2 separate regions of the Homo sapiens genome follow, and region 1 is linked to region 2. Evidence: promoter capture Hi-C in human tissues and cell types (Jung and others, 2019). All regions are on one chromosome and are shown on one strand. The core of a region is centred on a gene start or on the middle of the fragment in contact, and the rest is flanking DNA. Distances in the headings are between cores, read along the strand shown. Region 1 holds the start of TMPRSS6 (transmembrane serine protease 6). Region 2 holds the start of ELFN2 (extracellular leucine rich repeat and fibronectin type III domain containing 2).

What was found. Contacts are between HindIII fragments. The study calls those that stand out against the background at their distance.
Region 1: a contact is called between the fragment with the promoter of TMPRSS6 here and the fragment with the promoter of ELFN2 in region 2, in 4 of the 25 tissues and cell types used here (H1 embryonic stem cells, mesendoderm cells, small bowel and 1 more).

What each region holds. Positions count from the first base shown.
Region 1 is chr22:37,107,035-37,111,036 of GRCh38, reverse strand. TMPRSS6 (transmembrane serine protease 6) reads left to right here and starts at 1,324. Exons shown (of 18, transcript NM_001374504.1): 1 at 1,324-1,534. RefSeq lists an enhancer at 2,593-3,094. The HindIII fragment of the contact is 35,568 bases long and covers 1-4,002 here.
Region 2 is chr22:37,425,622-37,429,332 of GRCh38, reverse strand. It overlaps ELFN2 (extracellular leucine rich repeat and fibronectin type III domain containing 2), which reads left to right and starts at 1,854. Exons shown (of 3, transcript NM_052906.5): 1 at 1,854-2,035. The HindIII fragment of the contact is 24,898 bases long and covers 1-3,711 here.

The DNA.
Region 1 (4,002 bases), core at 75-2,574, 320 kb after region 2:
CCCGCATTCTGGCCTCAGGATGTAGACTCGCTGAAAGTCAGCCTTGTCTGAGACAGACGCCCGCTGCCCTGCACGCACCCTAGAAAGCCCTGGCTCCCATCCGGCACTTCGGCACGCATATGGCTCAAACCCATCTCCACAGCAACGCTGTTCCATAGAACAACAACGCAGGTCACACTTGTGACTTAACCTGTCTAATATCCACATGCAACAAGGGGTGTGGTGGCCCGCGCCTGTAATCCCAGCTACTTGGGAGGCTGAAGCAGGAGGATCATGTGGGCCCAGGAGCTCCAGACCAGCCTGGCAACCTAATGAGACCCTGTCTCTGAAAAAAAAAAAAACAAGAGAGCCAGAAGAAAATTGCTTTTAATAATACATTTTATTTATCCCATGATCACCAGTGTTATTTCAACATAAAATCAATATAAAAATTGTTATCGCGTTGGTTGACATCCTGTTTGCACTTGGCCTTGGAAACCTGGTGTGCGTCTCCCCCGTGCAGCTTTTCTCAGTTCAGACTGACTCAAGAGCCACGGGTGACCAGCGGCTACCGTCATGGACAGCACAGCGCTACGGAACCAGGTAGGAATTCATGCTGCGTGCGGTCGCTCATGCCTGTAATCCTAGCGTTTTGGGAGGTCGAGGTGGGTGGAATCACTTGAGGTCAGGAGTTCGAGACCAGCCTGGCTAACATGGTGAAACCCCATCTCTTCTAAAATTATGAAAATTAGCCGGGCATGGTGGTGGGCGCTGTAATCCCAGCTACCTGGGAGGCTGAGGCAGGAGAATTGCTTGAACCCGGGAGGCGGAGGTTGCAGTGAGCCGAAATCACACCACTGCACTCTAGCCTGGGTGACGGAGTGAGACTCCATCTTAAAAAAAAAAAAAAAAAAAAAAAAGAACGAGGTAGGAATTCAAATAATTCCCAGCTAAACAGAAAATAGCATCAAACCCCACCCCTGCCTCCCCTTTCTCCTCTCCAGTCCCCAGAGTATATGGGCCCAGCCTCCTTTTCTCTCTCTCAGGCCAGCAGCTCCTTTAGTCTCGCCTGTCCAGGTAAGCACCTGGACTCACCCTTGTGAGCCCCTGCACTCACCTGCACCGGCCTCTGCACAGTCCCCAGTCCTTGGCTGTCCCTACCTCATGCTCTCGGGGACCAGGGGCTGTAACCAGGCAGGCATGTCACCAGGCAACGGGCCTCGGGGGAGAGCTCAGATCTCCCGCACCTGCCTGCCAGCCTCTGGGGTGCCCATGCGGGGGTGGGGGAAGATGGGGCGGGGCAGGCACTGCCTTCTCCTACCTCCTGCCTGTTTACCTGTACTTAGTCACAGTGCTGTCCAGGACCCAGCAGGAGGAGTTCCATGGAGCCTGAGGCCACAGGCCACAGGGGACAAGGGCCAGACACCCTGGTCATGGCTCTAGGCCATTGATCCAGCCTGGGCTGGCTGGGTGGGGGTGGGGAGGCCTTGGCCTGGACAAACAGAGGCTCCTGAGGCCTGTGTGCAGGCCCGGCACCTATCTGCCGCTCCCAAAGGTAAGCGGGGGCCTCCAGGACAGGGGACCGGGATCTATAAATGACCTAGTGACAGTGTCCACCCTAAGAGCTGGGCCTGGCTCCCTGCAGCCTGAGCCACCTACCCTGCTCCGAGGCCAGGCCTGCAGGGCCTCATCGGCCAGAGGGTGATCAGTGAGCAGAAGGTGAGGGGCCCACAGAGCTGGGGAGGGGAGGGACCACGCAGGGTGACACCAGGTGTGTGGACAGGCACAGCATCAGTGCTGGGTGGTTGGTGGCCTGGGATTCAGGTGGCAGGGACAGGAGGAAGGGAGAGGCCACCCTACCCCTGCCTCGCAGGACTGGACATGCTGCCCCCTCCACACCCGGTACCCCACCTGGGCCTTCTGGTGTAGGAGACAGGCCCGGAGCCCCACATTGCACCTATGTACTGACTTAAGCCCAGGACCCTGGGCTCACAGGCTCAGAGTTGGCATGTATGTGTATGTGTGTTCGTGTGTGTGTCTGTGTAGGAAGGGCGTGCATCTATGAATTTTTGTGTCATGAATAGATGTGCGTATATCCCTCCGCGTGTCTCCATCTGTGTACATCTGTGGGTCTGTGAGTGTGTTTATATGTGTGGAAGGGACCCCCACCCAGTCCCCCACACTCTCAGGACTCTAGGGCCTAATGGTTTCACTGAAAGATGCCCCTATGGCCCTAGCCCAGAGTCCCTGCTCTGCTCTGCTCTGCCCTGGCTGAGGGACCTCGGGTAAGTCATGTTACCTCTCTCTACCTCAGTTTCCCCAGCCATTAAATAGAGTCAGCAAAGTAGGCACCCCAGGCTGTTGGAGGCTGCAGTGGAGTTTGCAGCACTGCCCAGCACAGGGCTGGCACATGGTAGGAGTTCATACGCAGTGGTTGAATCCGGATCTGCATTGCTGGGGGAGTCGCGGCCCCGCCCCAAGGAGCTCAGCCTCCAGCAGGCAGACCCGAGACCCTCCAATGGCCAGAAGGGCAGGAGGGAGTGAGGAGCAGGTGCCAGGGTGGGGTCCATGGTGCTCAGAGCTGGGGGACTGCTTCAGGCCCCTGTGGCAATTGGAGCACAGTCCCCGCTTCCAGGAGTTCAATGTGAGGGGCAAAGAGAGAGTGCCCACAGGTAAGCTGCACATCGCGAGGGGCAGCCGCCCCTTCTAGGGCACTCTGGGAGAGCTGCGAAGAGGTGAGGTCTGAACTGAGGTGACAGGGGCTGCATAAGAGCTGGCCAGGTTGGGAGGTGGGGGCCCAGGCAGAAGGAAGAGTGTGGGGACGCCTGGCCGTGAACAAGCACTGACAGGGCTCAAGGTCCACGAGGGCTCTTGGTGCCGGCTGGCTGCTCTTAATCCATAAATGTTTGCTACCATCCCATTGTTAAAATTTCTCACCAATGGAAGTCCAGTGTCCTTGGGGTGCGACGGGGAAAAGAGAGGGTGGGAAAAAAGGAGGCAGGAGAAGTTGGCCAGGCCACATATGCACACAGCACCTTGGACTTCTGTAGGGAGGAAGGAGCTGGGACCTTGTCATTCATTCATTTAACAATTACTGAGTGTCCGCTGAGTACCAGACTCTGCTCTCATGCAGCTTACAGACAGGGAGGAGGCAGATAAATGACATATTTGCATATCAGGCAATTTAGGCCTCTGTAATTGCTATAAAGAAAAATGCAGGAGAGACGGGAGTGCCCAGGGAAGGCCTCTCTGGAGAGGTGACATCTGACCCTTTGGAGGAGGTAAAGGAGGGAGCCACGAGGCCAGCAGAAAGGAAAACATCCCAGGCCCAGCAAGGAGCAAACCTCCCATTCAGCAAAGAGGACAGGAAAACTGAGACCCTGGGTCTTTAGGGACTGTGTTCTAGGTGGATGGAAGCCGTGCGAGGCTTGTGGGCAGGGCACATGGTGACAACACGCAGTGGCCATTGTGTGAGAACTCACTGGGTAGGGGGGTGGGTGATTGGCTATTGCAGGAGTCGAGGTGACAGATGACGGTGGCCTGGATGATGGTGGGAGTCATGGGGGGCCAAGAAGGGGCTGGCTTTGGGGGGCATTTGGAAGGTAGGGCCACAGGCTTTTCCAAAGGTGCTGGACCCTGGGAATGGGGGAGCCGTTGTATTATAAGATAGTAAAGACAAGAGTGGCACCGTCATCTTCACAACTGTCCACTGCCCCTCCTCCTGCTGGGCAGGAAACCCAAGAGGATGGGAATGAGGTCTCTTAGAGTCACCATGTGCCACCCTGTCGCCACCACAGAGCCTGGCACCAAGCAGGTGCTAGACAAAGATAGGGTGACTGAGCATTGAACCTGGGACCCCACAGGCCCACACCATTGTCCATGCCCCAGTGCCAGGCCTCACAAGTCCTCCTTCCTGGAGGCAGCAAGATAGAAAGCCCTGTACCAGGGGCCTAGAGACTTGGCAGTTTCATTCACTCATTCTTTCTGATCCTTCACTCATGTGACGGGCTGTGCGGCGTTCCA
Region 2 (3,711 bases), core at 605-3,104:
ACTCCCTGGTATTCTTTGGGGTCATCACTGCTCAGTTTCTTGGGCAGGAGCGGATTAGGTGGCATCTGCCAGTGCCCATCTCAGAAAGTGTCTGGGCCTGAGAGCCACAGGGGGGCTGTTGGCTTGGGGAGCACTCTAATTTCTCGAGGGATCCGCCAGAGGGCGCAGAGGCCGTTATGTTCCGCCTGAGGGGCTCTTCCAGCAAGGTCTTGGAGCTGGGACCCTGCTTCTTGCCCAGCCTTGTCAGGGATACACACCATGTGTTGGATACCGCCCCTGCCCTGTAGGAGGGCTCAGTTTAGAGGGCAGAGACAGCACATGGCTTGTTTGGGTTTGCAGCGAGGGACCTTGAAGGATGGGTAGGAGTGTGCCAGGCAGCCTGGGGTGCAGGTGGGGAACGCCCAATAGTCCTTCTGCATACCCCAGGACAACAAGTGGCCTGTGACCCAGTGCTTGTCTGCCCTCCCAGCCCCATCCTGGGCCGTTCCCTGTTCTTAGTTGAAAGGAGGGAGGAATTTCTGGACAGACGTTCTTTCTGCTCTACTAATACCCAACTCCGTGGAGTTCCCTGTACACACATACAAAGCTGTTTCATGCCTCTGTGCCTCTTTGCACATGCTGTTCCCAGAGTCCAGGACACCCTTCTCCTCCTTCTTTAGCTGGCCAACTCCTACTCATCCATCAAGATTCAGCTCAGGCAGTGGCTTCTTCTGGGGAGTCTCCTTATTCCAGACCTGCATGAGATGTCCCGACGGGGAGTTCCCGCAGCCTGGACTTCATCTGCTGTGCAACACCTGAGAACAGGCGCTGGTGCATGCGGTCCTATAAAAGTGATGGAGAAGTACAGGGCCTGCTGGCAGCAGGCCTCCGACATGCAGCTCGCAGGGCCTCGGGAGGAGGTGCTTGCATGCCCAAGCACCAAGTTATAGGCCCCGGGTGCCAGGCTTCTTGCATCTTCCACCTCCTCCTCCTCCTCCCAGCATCCACCCCTTTGCAGGTGGCAGCAGGTGGCAGGGGCTTTGGCGTAAGGGGCGGGGAACTGGGCCTCTGGAAGGCTAATGAAGGTTCTCTAGCTACAGATGAGCCCAGTATCCCTTGGACCTACTCCTGGAGGGGTGGGGAAAGGCAGTGAGTGCCCTGGCACAAGGTAGGGGAGCGTAAAGTCTAATACTGTCTGTAGGCTCCCTGTGTAACCTTGGGGGAATCACTCCTCTCCGAACCTCAGTTGTCTGGCCTGTAAAATGGGAACGCAGCAGCCGCACTTCCCCAGTCGCCAGCGGTTGAACGCGGGACCAACCAGCAGGGCGCAGGCGGCAGGGCATGGAGGTACAAGGCGGAGAGGGGGCCCATCAGCGGAGGCGGAGTCCAGGGGGAGGGCGAGTCCAGGCGCACTTCGGGCGGCCCCGCCGCAAGTTTGCCCCCAGCTGTTGAATGCGCTGGCGGAGGCCGGACCCGGACCCGGACCCGGATCCCGCGGGGTGAGCAGCGCAGGGGGCCGCGGCCGGGACAGGGGTCCGCCAGGCCGGGGCTCGGGTCCGTGGGGCCGCCTTCGCCTCCCCGGGCGCTGCAGCTGCAGCGGCGGCGCCAGGCGCGGCCCCAGCCCCGCGGGCGTGTGTCTGCGAGCGCGCGTGTGTCCGTGGAGCGTGCGGCCGGCTCGGGGGCGGGAGCGGGCTTGCTGCGGAAAGGCCTGCGGAGGGCACCGGGAGCGGGCGGGCTGGCGGACGGACAGACGGGGACGGACAGACGGACACAGCCTGCCGCGGTCCCTGACGCGCGCCGCTTGGCCCCTCCCGGGCGCCCTCCCCGCCGAGGCAGGGGCAGAGGCGCGGCGGCGGGGAGGAGGGGGCGGCGGCGTCTGCGCGCACACGCGCGCTCCCAGACACACACACAGACACACGCGGGCCACCCCACGGCCACGCACCCCGCACCCACACCCGCGCTCACACTCACATTCACACTCACACTCACACGCGCAGGCCCCGCGGCCGCCGCTTCCCGGAGGCGGTGCTTGGCCCGGATCCCGGCTGGGGCTGGGGTAAGTGAATTCCTCTGGATCCGAGCGCCGCGACCGACCGACCGGGGAGACGGTGGGAGTCGGGGCTGGAGCCGGAGGGCACCCCCTCCGTCAGTGGGGGTGGGGCTTGGAGAGGGACACGGAAGGGGGGATGAGACGGGGAGAGCCACCCCCAGTGTCTCCTGGGTCTGGGGATCCCCGTGAGACCCCCGGGGGACCACCCTGCGCGAGGGAGGTGGTGGTGGTGGCGGTGGGCGGAGGCGGTGGGAGGACACCGAGGACGGTCGGTGAGGTGAGCGTTTCTGGGGGTGGTGCAGAGGCTCGATGGTGGACGGTGTGCCAGCCGGTGCCACACTGCACCTCTCTGCCCTCATCTTTTCGAATCGGGGGCCCTAACCCCTCTCTTTCACGGGGTGCTGCCGGGTCAAGGCATTCATCCTCTAGCTGGTAAGAGGGGTTGACGGGGTGGATGCCTTCTAGGGGAAGGGGGGCCAGGGTGGGGCTTGACGGCGGTGGGGTTGGTAAGACCAGAATTGGGGGGTGGGGACCCTTTCAGAGGCGCTGGCCAGGGACAAGGAGGGAGGCAGCCCAGGGAGGCGGCATAAATCGCAGACACTGCAGCTCTGGCAGGGCCGGGGCCACTGCCGGGTGTGTGTGTGTGTGTGTGTTTGTGTGTGTGTGCGAGCGCGTGCCAGTGTGTGTGTGTGCGTGCGTGTGTGGGCTCCAGCAGCTGTCAGGGGACGGGGAGGGGGTGGGTGTGTTGGCTGGTGGGGCGCCGTGTGCATGTGGAGAGGATTGTGCGTGCTGTGTGTGTGTGGTGTGTGCGTGTGTGTGTGGACATGGGGTGGACCCTGCTCTCTGTCTGTATACACACAAGCGCACACACGCACACTGTCAGTGGCCTGGCAGGATTTCCTCGGAATGTTTGGAGGGAAGGGAGCTGATGTGTGTGTGTGTGTGTGCGCGCGCGCGCGTGTGCATGCACACTCGGGGAGCTTGTGTCCAAAACAGAGGCCACAGGCCATGGTGTGTCAGGCGTGCCCAAGGAGGGAGACGAGAAGGGGACAGTGGTGCTGACCGTGCACTCAGCTGGGGAGGAACGTGGTACTCGGCACTTTCTGCAGCTCAGGGCTCTGTGCTGTGCCCCTTCCCCCTGGACTCCTCCCACCCAGCAGCTGCGGCTGGAGGGCACTGCCTTGGTCCCTTGCTGAGACGCAGGTGTTGGGCTGGAGTGTGTGTGTGTGTCTGGGCTGCGGCTGTCGCTATCAGCAGGCCAGGCTGTCGGAGTCAGAAAGCTGGAGGGAGTGGGGTGCTGGCAGCACCTGGAGGAATGTGGTGGAAGCTGTGGGGCGCGGACTGCCCGGCGCGGTTACCGAGAGGCGTTTTAATATGCAAGTTGCATCATGAGATGGGACTGGGAGTGTGTGTGTGTGTGTGTGTGTGTGTGTATGTGTATGTGCATGGCTGACACCCCTGTTCTCGTGGCCCGTGGACACCTGTGGGACGTGTCACGTCTGGGCCATCAGCAAAGCATGTGGGCATGTGTGTCCCCTGAGAGGGGTGCACAGGCAGGTGCTGTCCTGATGAGCCGGGGGCCCTGCAACTGTGTGGGTGGGGAGGTGGGTACCTCTGGGCCATCAACGCCTAGGCAGGAAGAAAGAGTGTTAATTGTGGGGACATCAGGAAAAAGTATGTAT